2 separate regions of the Homo sapiens genome follow, and region 2 is linked to region 1. Evidence: promoter capture Hi-C in 16 types of primary human blood cells and fetal thymus (Javierre and others, 2016). All regions are on one chromosome and are shown on one strand. The core of a region is centred on a gene start or on the middle of the fragment in contact, and the rest is flanking DNA. Distances in the headings are between cores, read along the strand shown. Region 1 holds the start of ZNF252P-AS1 (ZNF252P antisense RNA 1). Region 2 holds the start of ZNF7 (zinc finger protein 7).

Evidence for each region. The method cuts DNA at HindIII sites, captures the fragments that hold promoters and counts their contacts. A CHiCAGO score of 5 or more calls a contact.
Region 2: a contact is called between the fragment with the promoter of ZNF7 here and the fragment with the promoter of ZNF252P-AS1 in region 1, in 6 of 17 cell types (naive CD8 T cells, total CD8 T cells, total CD4 T cells and 3 more). The highest score is 6.6, in naive CD8 T cells.

The regions. Positions count from the first base shown.
Region 1 is chr8:144,998,945-145,005,926 of GRCh38, forward strand. ZNF252P-AS1 (ZNF252P antisense RNA 1) reads left to right here and starts at 3,867. Exons shown (of 1, transcript NR_026974.1): 1 at 3,867-6,982. It also overlaps the pseudogene ZNF252P. RefSeq lists enhancers at 4,260-4,836, 4,580-4,709. The HindIII fragment of the contact is 5,513 bases long and covers 596-6,108 here.
Region 2 is chr8:144,823,251-144,830,232 of GRCh38, forward strand. It overlaps ZNF7 (zinc finger protein 7), which reads left to right and starts at 4,310. Exons shown (of 5, transcript NM_003416.4): 1 at 4,310-4,359; 2 at 5,793-5,840; 3 at 6,228-6,354. The coding sequence starts at 5,838. LOC100130027 (a long non-coding RNA gene) reads right to left here and starts at 3,790. Exons shown (of 5, transcript NR_147501.1): 1 at 2,063-3,790. RefSeq lists a silencer at 3,501-4,630 and enhancers at 3,962-4,487, 4,488-5,013, 5,014-5,539. The HindIII fragment of the contact is 9,547 bases long and covers 1-5,846 here.

The sequences.
Region 1 (6,982 bases), core at 2,617-5,116:
AGGAAAGCAGGGCTCTGAAACCGAACAGATCCATATCCCAGATCTGCCACCAATAGGCTGTGTAAACTTAAGAAAAGTGACAGTATTTGTTAGCCTCAGGTTCGTTTATAAACTGTGTATCCTACCACCGATCATCAAGATGCAGAAAGATTAATTCAGGGGATAGGGAGGTACTAGGTGTGCAATGAATAATATTCTCCTTCTATAAATCAGGGAGGGTTGGAAAGGCATGGGAGGCCAAGGTGGGAGGATTCCTTGAGGCTAGGAGTTTGAGACCAACCTGGGCAACACAGAGGCTCTGTCTCTAAAAAAGTAAAATAAGACAGGCATGGTGGCCCATGCCTGTAGTCTCAGGTACTTGGGAGGCTGAGGTAGGAGGATCTCTTCAACCAAAGACGTCAAGGTTACAGTGAGCTATGGTCTCACCACTGCACTCCAGGATGGGCAACAGAGTGAGACATTGCCTATTAAAAAAAAAAATCAAGGAGGGTCCCAGTACCACCTGTCCCCCTCTCTGTGCAAACCAGACCTGCATGGTACCATGGTCAAAATGTCTGGTCTTTGGGCCCAGGGGGTGAGGAGCCTCTGAGCCCCAAGCTTGATCCTCAAGGTTAAGGAGCAGGAAGCCCAGGAGCTGAGCCCCAGGGAGGGAACTTACCTAATGAGAGTAGGTTCCCATAGGTCCCCATCATCACATCCTTGTAGAGGCCCCTCTGAGCAGGGATCAGACAGTCCCACTCCTCCTGGGAGAGGGGTACAGCCACATCCTCAAAGGAAACCACGATGTGGAATGACAAGATCTTGATGCAGCCCTCAGGTCAGGACCTGGAGGGAGAAGATATTAGGCTCAGGACTGGTAAAATCCCTCTGGGAACATGTACCTGTCTTCCCCACTAATGTGAACTCTTTGAGGCAGACACTATATTGGCTCATCTTGGTGTGCCCCAACTCTGACCTCTACTGTACCTGGTCCAGGGACAGTAAAACAGTGAGAAGTACATTTCAGGGACTTGAACTCAGGAACTGAGGACATCGGTGGAGACAGGGAGCTGTCCACCCTCTGGGACCAGCTCCTTATAGACAGACTCCTGCTGAGAAAAGGCTGAGGTCACATGGAAGAGACTCCATGAGGACCACTCACTTGGAGCCCACCAAGAAGGAGCTGCATGACAGCCATCACTAGGTCTCTGAGCTTGTCCTGAGGTGTGGGCAGAGCTGTAGGGAGAGGAGGGTGATGGAGCCTGACCAACCTTCTGCTCCCCATAGGTGCTCTGAGACTTCTAAGCCTAGACATTTTGTGGTAGCAGAGACCCAATTATGAGCTGCCTGAACACCCCAGGAAAGGTGGATGAACTAAGTAGCCAGTGGTCTCTGAGACCATATCCCCTCCCTAATTTTCTGCCATACCTCTCCATGTCTCAAGAGAGGCCTTCCTGAGGCCCCTGGGATGACAGCATCCTGAGGCCACCATGTGAAAGCCAGGACTGTGGCAGTGCACTTGGCCAGGAGAGACAATGGACTGCGTTTCCCAGGCCCACCTATGAGGTCCTGCGCAGACGGCAAACAGCTGAGAACAGCGGACCAGGCTCTGGTGCTAAGGCAGCGAATGAGCAAATGGAGAAGTTAACACATATGCATGACACACAGACACAACGCCCAGGTGGTGTCAGGTAATGACAAAGGATACAAAAAATTAATGACGCAGCACGAGGGCAGCGACTGGTGGTAAGAGATATTTTACACAGGATGGCCAGGGAAGACACCTCCGATAAAGTGACAACAAATCAGAGATCTGGATGGAGTGAGGGTAGGCACCATGTGGTTATCAGTGAGGTACATCCCAGGCAGGAGGAGGGCACAAGTGCAAAGGCTCTGAGATGCAAGCACACCTGTGTTCAAGAACGGGCAAAGAAGCCAGAGGGGCTCAAACAGACTAGGGGAGGGTAAAAGAGGTGGGTACCCTCTGGGGTGGGTACCTTGTAAGCCTTAGGGCAATGGGTTTTATTCTGAATGGATGGGAAGTGCCTGGAATGTCTGGGAAGAGTCATATGACCTCAGATGTGGTCTCTACAGCTGCTGCTTTGAGGGTGCTTTGAATAGACTATGGGGTGGGGGTAAGGAACAAAAACAGGAAACCAGTCAGAAGGTTCTAGCAACAATCCAGCTAGAGATGAATGTCCTGGACCAGACTGGTGGTGGCAGAAGTGACAAAAAGCAGCCAGATTATGGATACATTTCAAAGGTACCATCAATAGGATTTGCAGATGAATTTCATGTAGGACGAGACACCAAGATTTTTGGCCTGAGCAACTGAAATTATGAAATTTCCATATACTCAAAAGAGTAAGACTGCAAAAAGATTAAATGTAAAAGTTGTCTTGTATACAGTAATGTTTAAGATACCTATTAGATTTATAAATGGAAAATTAGGGCATTTGGATATACAAGTTGAAAATTCAGGAGTGAGGTTGGGCTGGCTGGGTATATACTGAAAACTGTCAGTACACAGATGACATCTAAAACCACAAATCTGGTTTTATTTTAGCAGTGATATGTGTCACTCCCACAAAAGCCTTCCCAATTGGCCTCAGCATACACAACAAGTCACCTCCCCACAGCCCTCTACACATAAACAAATTCCTTAGTTTAGTTCAGGAGGAAATGCGCCCTTTTCCTTCCGCTCTAGGTGACCGCAAGGCCCAGTTCTCGTCACCAAGATGTTAAGGGAAGTTTGCCAAGAGGCATCTGAAAGGAAATAAGGGGAATGGAGTGACCACAAAGGAAAGCCAAGAGAACGTTGGAGACACGTTCTAGAGCCCTGGCATTTCACAACAAACTCTGGAACAAACCCTGTCTCATCATCATTTAAGCCTTCGTTGGACAGACTTTCTGACTGGCAGCTGAACATAAGCTCATTGATGTCTTCACAGTCTCCAGCTGAGGCACACCTTGGCCAGAGGGAATCTTCCAGTCCTCAGACAGGGCTTGCCTTTGACTGGCCCCTGCTGCTTATGCCCTTTGTGAATCACAAGCGGTACCTCTTAGTGTACTCTGCCTTCACTCCTAAACGCATGTGGCAGGCATGTAATGCTGCTATTAGGCGCATGGGCTCTGGACTCGAATAGGACTGAGTTCTAACCTTGGATCCACCACTTACTCATGCAGAGGTCTCAGGTAAGTGACTTGAGTTTTTCCACAGACCATAAAATGAGATTGACACTACTCCTTAAGTGACTATATTGCGTTAAATGAGAATATGTATAAAATGCTCAGCACAGTATTAGCAAACCGCAAACAATACTAAGTCTCAATTGTCCTAATCAGTAAGTCAGCATTTACCGAGTGCCTACTAAATGAATGAGTGTTGAGCTTGTTCCAGCGCATCTGTGAGATATCACCTCCTGCCTATTCCTTTCCTTCCCCAAAACAGAAGCTCCTTCACACCACAGCTCTCACAGCTTTACCCTTTCAATCAATACATTCCTGCTAAATGAAATGCACTTTTCTCTCTTCTGAAAAAAAAAAAGCACAATTCAGCTCATCCCCTGACATTGCCCAAACTCCCTTCCTCTGCGAGATCTTTTTACCCATCTGGCTTCCCTGCCTCAGTGTTGCTCGGGAGCGTGGATGACAGCCCGTAGACCTGCACGCCCCGCTGCCTCCGCTCGTGCCTCACGCCACCCTCGCCCTGCCCGCGCCTCGGCCAACACAAAGCGGGCGCTCAGCACCCCGCAGCCGCCCTCGACGCGTCCTCTACGGGTCACTGAGGCCGCGGGGCCCGACCTGCGGCCTCTCAGAACCACGGCACCGCCCCTGCCCGCCCCAGCGCCACTCCGGCACCTCCGCACCAGGCGCCCTAGCTCGGGACTCACTCGGCTCGACCACGGGAAGGGAAGGAGCGCGAACGCTAAATCCCGTGCCGCGGGGAGCCAAGCCCCCTGGGCCGGAAATGCCTAATCTGAACTTCCGCCCTGCCCTTCAGCTCACCAACCAATTGAATTCCAGGTTTCGTGGGTCCGCTCTAGGCGGCTGATAGTACTCAATGCTCCGGCAGTCCTGCTCCTTCCCGGTTACGTCCCTTCCAGCCCTTGGCGGAGTCTGCGGGCGAGAGGGCGCAGGTGCAGAGGTGCCGCCGGCGGCGTGCGGCTGCGAAGGAAGGGACCCCGACACCGAGCGTTCCTGCGGACGCTCCTCAACCGGGGGTTGTTCTCCGTGCTCTGGACCCGGCCCTTCCTCACCTAGGACGTCTCGCGGTGCACTGTCCCCCTCTCTCGGGCGACTTTTCCCCCACCTCCAAGTAGTGATCAAGCTCAGAATCCAGCTCGCGCCCGCTGTGCACCTAGCACTTCCCACCTGTAGTCTTTTGACCTCATCGCCCCCTCTAGAAGGCTGCTGCCATCGCTTAAATGAGGAAGCCGAGGTGCAGAGAGGTTTCAGACCTATTGCGGTGGAGCTGGAGTTCGAGAACCAACCACTCGGTGCTGAGACGCGCTTGCGGAACGGGCGGCGGGCGGGGGTGAAGCGGAGTGAGGGGAGAGGCCAGGTGCGACCCGGGCAGGTGAGGAGCACGGGCCCGGAGGGAGGACTTACGAGAATGGAAAGGAAAGCAGCCCGTCTTCAGTGGGACAGTGGGAGCATTAAGATGTCAGAGAATGAGCAGTTGTGGGAAGAGCCATAGGGTATTTTATTTTTTAGAGATGGGGTTTTGCTCTGTCGCCCAGGCTGCAACCTCGACCTCCCGGGCTCAAGCGATCCTCCTGCCTCAGCCTCCCGAGTAACTGGGACTACAAGCAACGCGCCACCACACTAAATCTTTAATTTTTTGGGGGGTGGTTGAAGGTGGGGGCGGGACAGGGTCTCTCTCCGTCTCCCAGGCCAGAGTGCAGTGGCGCAATTACGGCCCGACTCCTGGGCTCAAGCGATCCTCCCACCTCAGCCTCCGGAGTAGCTGGGACCACAGGCGCCCACCACCACGCCCAGCTAGTTTTTGTATTTTTTTGTAGAGGTGGTGTTTTGCCATGTTTCCCAGGCTGGTCTTGAACTCCTGAGCGCAAGTGATCCACCCGTCTCAGCCTTCCAAAGTGCTGGGATTACAGGTGTCAGCCACCACGCCCGGCCCTAAATATTTTTTTAAAAGTTGGATTTTTCATGGTGCCCAAGGGAAGAGACACTCCTTTCCTTTTACTAAGACCATTTCTTTTAGAAAACTTTGTAATAGGAAAATCTTTCTTTGCCCTCTTGAAATGTATGTAAATTTTTTAAAAAGCTGCATAAGCCTCTTGCCAGTTTTATAAACCAGGAATTTCTTTCTTAAGGACCTTTCTTAAGGACCTTGGAGTGATTTCTTTGAAATAAAAAGGCCAAGGAAGATAGCTTCCCTCCTTGTCTCTGTGGGAGTTTAGCAGATGGCTGGCTCCAAGTTGCAATTACCTGCTTGTCATAGAGACATGAGGTTTATTTTAACTTTGGATAAAGGCAGTTAGCTAACACAGATGGCCGCCCCAAGTACCACGTACCTGCCTTCTCGTTTAGAAACACTGTGGGCATTAGGGGCAACTCATGCAGAAGACCCAGGAATCTTCCAGGTATACTCCATGGGATGCCTGTTCCACTCTGGCCCATTGGCACAAGCTAGCCTTTTCTTTTAAGGATAGTGGGGTCCGTTCTGAGAGCGGCCTTTGCAACATCTCACTTCCCCTGTTGACTGTTATTTCTTTTCTTCCTGCTTTCCTACTCCCTTGATCCCAAACTCACTAGGGGTATTTAGTGAGCACTTACTGTTGCAGTAAGACTCTAGCCAAGGAAGACGAAGAGACAGTTGGAGACCAAAGAGAACTTCAATTCGGGCACCCGAGCCTAGAGCAGGCTCATGCCCAAAATGGCTACCGACCCAGACAAAGAAAGCAGGCTTGCTTATATGTCGTTTCAGGCGTGAAAAACAAGGCAGGATACAAGTTTCAGACAAAGACAGTAAATTATTCAACCTGTGACAATTCTGAGAAAACTTACATTTAGTTATCTTGACCAGTCAACCTTGAAGCTGGACAGAGCTGGGGTAAGGGAAAACAGGAATTACGGAAGTATGAGGGAGTCGCGAGGCCGGAGATAAGCTTGGAAGGTTGAGATAAGCTCGCAGGTGCAACTTCTTAGCAATGCTGAGAGTGGCTGCTTAAATTTCTTAGCCTATGTATAACTTCTAAATAGCCTACACTAAATGGTAACTATTACCTATGTTGTGTTTGTTATTTTAAACTTTAATGTTATTTATTTTATTTCATTTTCCTTCCACATTACCTCTGCTGTTAGCAGCTTTGAGAAATGCTGCTATAGGATGTGGGAAGTCATTAAAGGATTTAAGCAGGGAGAGGCAAGATCAGATTAACATTTCAGAAAAATATTTACTGTTTTCCAGCTGAAACTAGTAGAGTACAATTTACTTTCTGGTCACAGCACACAGCAGTCACATCCTGGAGGAACTGTACTTCTCTAAGATCTAGTCTGTCCTGTGGTTTAAATGACCTTTAGCAAATTGTCTTTATTACTTTGTACACTGCTTTCACCAGTCTGCTCTTCCATGGCTAACGGGGCAGAACTGTTATTTTTAGGGTTTTCCACATCCAGTATGTTCATAAGATTTCTACCCTGTGTGAACTTCCAGATGTCGAATAAAGGCTGGATGCTGACCAAAGACCTTTCCACATTTTTTACATGTGTGTAGGGTTGCTCACCAGTAGTATTCCCCTGATGCTTCATAATGGTTGATCCCAGAGAGAATGCCCTTTCACACTCATTACATTCATAGGGTTTCTGTCCAGTGTGAGTTCTGTGATGGGAAATTAGGTTAGAACTTTAAACAAAGGCCTTTCCACGTTTGTTACACTGATAAGGCTTATTTCCAATGTGGATTCTTTGGTGTTACACAAGATTAGAGCTGTAGTTGAAGGTTTTCCCACACTCTGCCTTCATAGAACTTGTCTTTATA
Region 2 (6,982 bases), core at 3,060-5,559, 180 kb before region 1:
CTGGCACTCGTGGGTCTCTGTATGGCATGGTGCCCAGGTGGGGCCAGCTGTCTGCCCCAGCCCTCCGTGAGGTGGGCGCTGTGGCTCTTGGAGGCTCCTGGCTCCTAGTTCTCTGTCCTCCGAAACTTCTGAGCTCCCAGGCCCACTCCAAGTTGTGGCCTGGCCTATGGCAGTGGAGCTGTGTCCACCCTGTTCACGCTCACTCACCTCTGCTAGGGTCCCTTGGGAGCACTCTCCCCCGTTTCTGGCCGGGTGAGGATCCAGGGCGCCTCCCCTCATTCCAGCAGGGAGATTAGCTCAGGTTTGCAGGCTGGAAATCCTGCTTGAGGAAAACAGTCCAGAGGCCTGGAGTGAGCCTGGGGAGGTGCAGCAGGCAGGGCCTGAACCGGCGGACCCTCATACCCAGCTAGCCAGGCGGGCTGCCCACAGGACACTTGAAGGGTAGGAAGCGGCTGCCAAGATCTCACCCCCAAAGATGCCCAGCTGGCACAAGCCTCCAGTCTCTCTTGATTTGGCTGTTAGAGAAAAGCAGATTCTGCTTGTGGTTGTCATCATGCCATCCCAAACAGATCATCACTACAGGGAGGCACGATCTCTGTACTCTGATGGGTGCGGCATGGGTGAGGACTGACTGTCCAGAGGGCCCAGGGTGCCTTCCAGGAACACCTACAGCACCGCGACCTGATGCTCACCTCACCCCATCCCACAGCAGCCCAGTGCCCTCCTGGCAGTGCCCACTCCTCCCCAGCTCACCCGTCAGGCACTGTTCCTCCCTAGGTGTTCTCTCCACTGCATAGAGGCTTGGACCCGACTTCACGAAGACATTTTGAAACCATGCACCAGAGAGTGTGTGCATAGAATGAAGAACCTTTTGTTTGCAGGGCTCCGTCCCTGCTCTCCAGGGTCACCCAAGCATTTGGGGCCTTGATCCTGGAGAGGCTGCTCCCTCCAGGGCTAGCTAATTCCCAGAGACGGCAAACACTCCCCTTCCAGTGCACCTTTTTTTTTTTTTTTTGAGACGGAGTCTCGCTCTGTCACCCAGGCTGGAGTGCAGTGGCGTGATCTGGGCTCACTGTAGCCTCTGCCTCCTGCGTGCAGGCGATTCTCCCACCTCAGCCTCCTGAATACCTGGGACTACATGCGTGCACCACCACACCCTGCTAATTTTTTTGTATTTTAATAGAGACGAGGTTTCACCATGTTGGCCAGGCTGGTCTCACCTCAGGTGATCTGCCCTCCTCGGCCTCCAAAGTGCTGGGATTACAAGCGTGAGCCACTGTGCCCAGCCCCAGTGCACCTTTGAGACACAAACCAACCAATCCAGAGTCCACAACTATCTCCCTCCCTTATCACACGGTCACTCACCAAGCCAATATTTCCCCTGCCCTAAGTAACCCGAGGGCCAGGTACCGGACAAGAAGGGGCCACCCCTACAGCCCTGAGCCTGCCACAATTGTTCAAATAGTCCAATCGTGAGCTCACTCTGCATACCTACCCTGCCTGCCCTCTCCTTCCAGAGAAAATAAAGGCTCCGGCCAAACTCAGTCCTCTCCCCCTTTCTGCCTCCTGGCCATCCCTGGTCCTTCTCATGTCGCCCTGTGTGCCCTGCCCAGTTTCCAGGGACCCACGACTATAACTTCTTCCTTCACAACAGTCATTCTCACGTGTGCATGCCTTACCACACCTGTTAAAACAAATCCACGGGTCCGGGCGCGGTGGCTCACGCTTGTAATCCCAGCAATTTGGGCGACCGAGGTGGGCAGATCTCCTGAGGTCAGGAGTTCGAGACCAGCCTGGCTAACATGGTGAAACCCCGTTTCTACTAAAAATACAAAAAATTAGCCAGGCGTGGTGGCAGGTGCCTGTAATCTCAGCTACTCGGGAGGCCGAGGCAGGAGAATCGCTTGAACCCGGGAGCAGAGGTTGCAGTGAGCTGAGACTGTCATTGCACTCCAGCCTGGGCAACAAAAGTGAAACTCTGCCTTAAAAAACAAACAAACAAACAAAAAACAAATCCAGGATACATTTGAACTCACCTTGAGATGTGGGTGTCTGCACTCACCTTGAGATGTGGGTGTCTGCAGATGGCAAGGGACCTGTGGAGGGGCTCTGTGGATTGGAAGCACCATTGCTCTGGGCTGTCCACTCGGATACGGAGAGTGCTGTTGGAAATGCAGCACCTTGAAAGTGTCTTTGTAGTTGAGATTTTTTCCTGGAAACATTTACAGCTTGGAACTGTTCTATCTGGCCAAATATGAGGAGGCTAGAGTTGCCCCAAAAGTGGCAGCAAGGGAGTTGCCTCAAAAGACTTCCCCAAACAGTCCCGCGATGGAATTGGTTGGGATTCCAAGGAAAGAAGCTCTAAACGCCAGGGTGATCAGTCCAGAGCATTTCTTCCGGAAATTTTCACATGGAGCTTCAGCTTTCTTGGGATCGATGATGAGGCAAGGGATGCTCCACCCAGGTACATTTGCAGCAAGGGACTCTGGCTATGGAGCTTAGATGAGAGTTTAAGGGATTGGACTCAGGGCAGGGCCAGTTTCTACGTGTTTAGCAATAGGGTTGATTGTGTTTTCAAGCAACCTAAACAGCTTTATCAGGGAATGTGCCCGGCCCCATTGAACTGGGTTCAAGGCTGCAGGGAACACGCAATGGCCAGGTCCCAGAGCAATCAAAGGACTCTGTGTTTCTCAATCAGTAGAGAAAGAAAAGGGGGAACTGGAAGACCCTGTGAATCCCAATCTCAGCTAGGGATGAGCAATCCAGGCTGGCCCAGAGCATAAGCACCGTGACCATGTGAGGGCCTGAGTGTGCCTGGCTTTGGAGGGTCTGCTTGCTCAGTGGCCTCTAGACTCAGCCGGGCAGTGGATGCAGTGGATGGAGGAAGCCCCCTCGCCCCAGACAGGACCTCAGGGCCTCAGAGCCCTGGCATCTGCACCCTGGACACAAGGAAGGTGCCTATGAGGTGGATGCTCTAGCCAGGCTTTCTCCCCCTCCTGCTCCTGTGTTACCCTGGTGTGCCCCCCTCACCTGCAGCAGGCCAGGTTGGGGCATAGGGTTGCCGGCCCCTACCAGCCCTGGGGGTCTGGAGGGCGGCTGGGGAAGCAGACCCCCTGTCCTTCCCTATCCTTCGCGACATGCTCCCTGAGCAGCTGCAGTCCACTTAGATGACCAGAGAGGATGTGGGGCTGAGGGAGCCGAACTCGGGGCAGCAGGGGCGGGGGTGGGAGTGCCGGGATCATCCGCACCGGGAGAGGCGAGGCCGGCGTCTGTTTTTCACCTGGGCCTCCCTGGGGGGCTGGGGGCTGCCTGACTCTTCCCTCCTTTGGTTTGCGCAAGTTTTCCCGCGCGGGTTCGGATCAACACGCCGGGGGAGCCCGGCTTACGTCCCTCCTGGACCCCCGCCCCGTTCTTCCCGTGGGGAGGGGCGCGTCAGGCGGACCTGGCACCCTCCGGCTGCTGGGCTTCGCCGGGAGCCACGCGGGGAGGTCCAGGCAGTCGGGACGCAGGCAGCGTCCTCGCCGAGGCTGCGAGTCCGTGGCCGTCCGGGGGAGGCGCGCAGGCTCTGCCGGACGCAGAAGGAACCCGAAGGAGGCGGGGTGGAGGGCGGTGCGGGGCCGGGGAGGGGCGAGGCGAGTGGCGAGTGGACGCCGGGCCCGGCCTCGGGCAACTCCGAGGGGCGCCCTTCCTCGGGGTCCCGGAGGCTCTGCGACCCCGCGGCCGCTCCAGCCGCTCACTGGGGACAAGGCCCGAGCCAGGCGTCTCCGCGAGGCGGGGTCCATAGCGCGCCCAGCAGGCGCCTCCTGTCGCAGGGACGCGGGGGAGCGGCGCCTGAACAGCCTCGGTGGGAACCAGCGCCCGAAGCTGGTGATCCGGGGTGCGCAGGGCCCAACCGGGCGATCCCCTGGATCTCCGCCAGCCTCGCCCCGACTCCGCTCCTCCCACCCGCCAGCGAGTCCGCAACTCCCGGCCCCGGCCCGCGTCCCCAGCTCCAGGCCCCGGCCCCGCCCCGCCCCTGCTCAGGCACCGCCCACTCCGGGCTCTGGGCCCTCCTCTCCCTCGCGGCTCCGCCCCCTGCCCGCCTCTGACTGTACCCCGCCCCCAGGCGCCAGCCCCGCCTATCTGGGCTTCTGGTCCCGCCCAGGTTCTTGTCCCTCGGGCCCCAGCCTCGCCCCTCCTCGGCTCTGACTCCACCCCTTCTCCGGAGCCTGGGAGGCGGGGCTGAGAACCACAGAGATGGCCGGGCCTCCGAGCGGCCCAGGGCGGCCGGAAGTTTGCGGGGCGGGGCGGACGCGGGTGGCCAAGGCCCGTTTCCGGCGGCGTCGCGCGTTTGCGAGCCTCGGGTGGTCCTCAGGGAGGGTGAGTCGGCGCGGCGGGCGCGGACTCGGGTTGCCCTCGGTCCGAGTGATCCCTGGTCGCTTCCTTAGCCCTCCCGCCTTCGGCATTGGGGTCCCCGCGTCCCCCGGGCCTCCAGGCGGGAAAGCGCGGGGGCTTTGCGGGGCCTTGAGCGCCTGGTGTGGGAGGTGGTCGAGCCCAGCCACCCTCCCCCGCGGCGGCGCGAGGTGGGCTTCGTTTGGCCGAGTCTCGCAGCTCCCCGCAGACCCCGCTCGTGGCGGCCACGGTGTCCGGGGCCTGAGTAAGGCGAGCTCCAGCTGCGGCCTTTTCTTCAGGCCTGGGTCTACTCCCGGGGCCCTGACTCCTCCTGCGAAATCACCTCCTTCTAGAGCCTTTTCTCTTTCTATTTATTGCCCCGGAAGGCCTAGGATAAGTGACAGTGGAGGAAGGAACGGTGCCTTGGGTGGGGTAGGCTGTTTGTCTTCTCTAAATTCTGGTTGCTATTCCGGGCATTCCTACTGTCAGGAGCCAGGTGGGGGGATCAGCCTACCTGTGCCGGTGACCTGGGGCTTCCACCCACAAACCACTTTCTGGGCCAGAAGCTGCCATACGAAGACTCTTTTTCCCATTCCGACCTCCCGGGGGAATGCCTGGGCAGGTAGAGGGTCTGGGGTCATTGGCTTAATTGAGGTGAACGATTTATATCAGATTACATCCCTGTGCCTGGTTCCATCCTGGCGACAGGTGAGCTGGAGACTGGAATTTATGTACTTGAGGGCAGGGGTTTCCATGTCCACTCTTGTCTTCCCTACAGTTTGTCATTTTTGCTCCTGCCTTCTCCAACCTCCAGTCGCTCACTGCCTTCCCCAACCTCCAGTCGCTCACTGCCTTCCCTTGCTGCCGGGAATTTACCCACACTGGTTCATCCAACCCCATTTCTTCTTGCTTCAGGCCCTTTCACATGCTATTCCTGCTGCCTGGAGTGCTCTCTCCACCTCCATTACCTTGGCCGAGGTCCCTGGGGAAGTGACCCATTACACTGAACGTTCTAGTCTAAGTGGCTTTCATAGTTCCCTGTACTTGAGCGCTGTCGTGGTTGCAGTGTGCTTATTTGTGTGGTTATTTAACTCTTTCCTCCGCCAGACTGCTTCGTGAAGGCAGGGTCCTCGTGTCCACTACTGTATCCCCATTACTCAGTGCCTGGCACGTGGCATCCACTTCTTACGGCTTTGTGGAGTGAGTCACACATGCCACACACACATACACTCTAAAGAGGAACAAGAGTTCAGTGGGCCTCCTTCACTCAAGTGCCATGGCTGCTTCAGCCCAGCCCCATGTCCCTGCTAGAGAAATCTGGGGCTGGAGGTAAAGGAGCAGAGAGCACAGTACCCCCTTGATTAGCCTGGAAGTTGGGCTTCTGGCACCTTGACCTCTAATCCTTTCATAATTGCCAACAGGTCTCTCGGCCAGAACACGTGGATGCCCACCCACCACTGAGCCTCATGGTAGGAAGCTTGACTGCCTCCTTCCCCTCGCATGTCCTGTGAAGGCCCACCTCCTGCTCTGCCCACTGGCCCTGGGCCCAGACCCTACCTTGGCCCTTGCTGGGCTTAGGAAGGCCCCCTTGCCCCCAACCCCAAGGTAGTGAGCAAACCCCTGCCCAAACCAGGGCCTAATTGAGGCTCTTGAGGGGGGAGGGTTGTATGACCACCATGGACTGGGTTCCTTCCTCCTCCCCGAGACTGCCCCTCCCCAGAATATTAGAGGCAGAGGAGTCCTGGTGAGCGTCTCGCCCAACCCCATGGGGCAGCTGCCTGAGACATGTCATGAGGCAGCGCCAGAAGGGGGCTGGCACCCAGGGATTCCTGGGGTGCTGGTGTGTGTCCTTTCAGGAGGTGGTAACATTTGGCGATGTGGCTGTGCACTTCTCTCGGGAGGAGTGGCAGTGTCTGGACCCTGGCCAGAGGGCCCTCTACAGGGAAGTGATGCTGGAGAACCACAGCAGTGTGGCTGGACTAGGTGAGGCTGCACCTTGGGGCCCCTTCCCCTGCATCATCAGTCAGCACCCACCCAGCCAGGCCTCCATCAGAGGCTGGGGTATGCAGGCCAAACGCTCAGACCCTTGTGGGCTCCACAGGGGGCTTGGACTCATGAGTGGTGTGCCAGGCTGGTTCCTAGCTTTGCCCATGTCATGGGGTTCAGCCCCCAGGGAGTGGGTGGGATTCTGGGAGTTAGTAAAGCCTCTTTTTTTCCTAAGCTGTTAAATTGTGAGAAATAGAATCCAAACTTGAAATAGCTTAGACAAGAAAAGAGAAATTATTGGGTGGAGAAATCCAAGGAAAAGGTTGTGCAACGAGCAAGAGGTGGCAGCGACGCCCACACGGCTGCTTTGCAGATGCCGTCATCCCCTTGCCCCTCCTGTCCTGCCGTTAGTCTCCTCTCTGAACTCCACCACCGCCACAGGCAGCCACTGCGGTGCTCTTTATGTCCATGCCTGTGTCCTCACAAGCTGTATACTGTCGTTGGATTGCAACTTGGTGAGGGGGGGTGCGTCTTAACTTGGGCCTTGCTGGGCCTCTTGCCTGTGACTAAGCCCTCTGCTGCATCACACGCCCGAGAGAGTGCCTGGGCTGGGGGATCAGGAGTG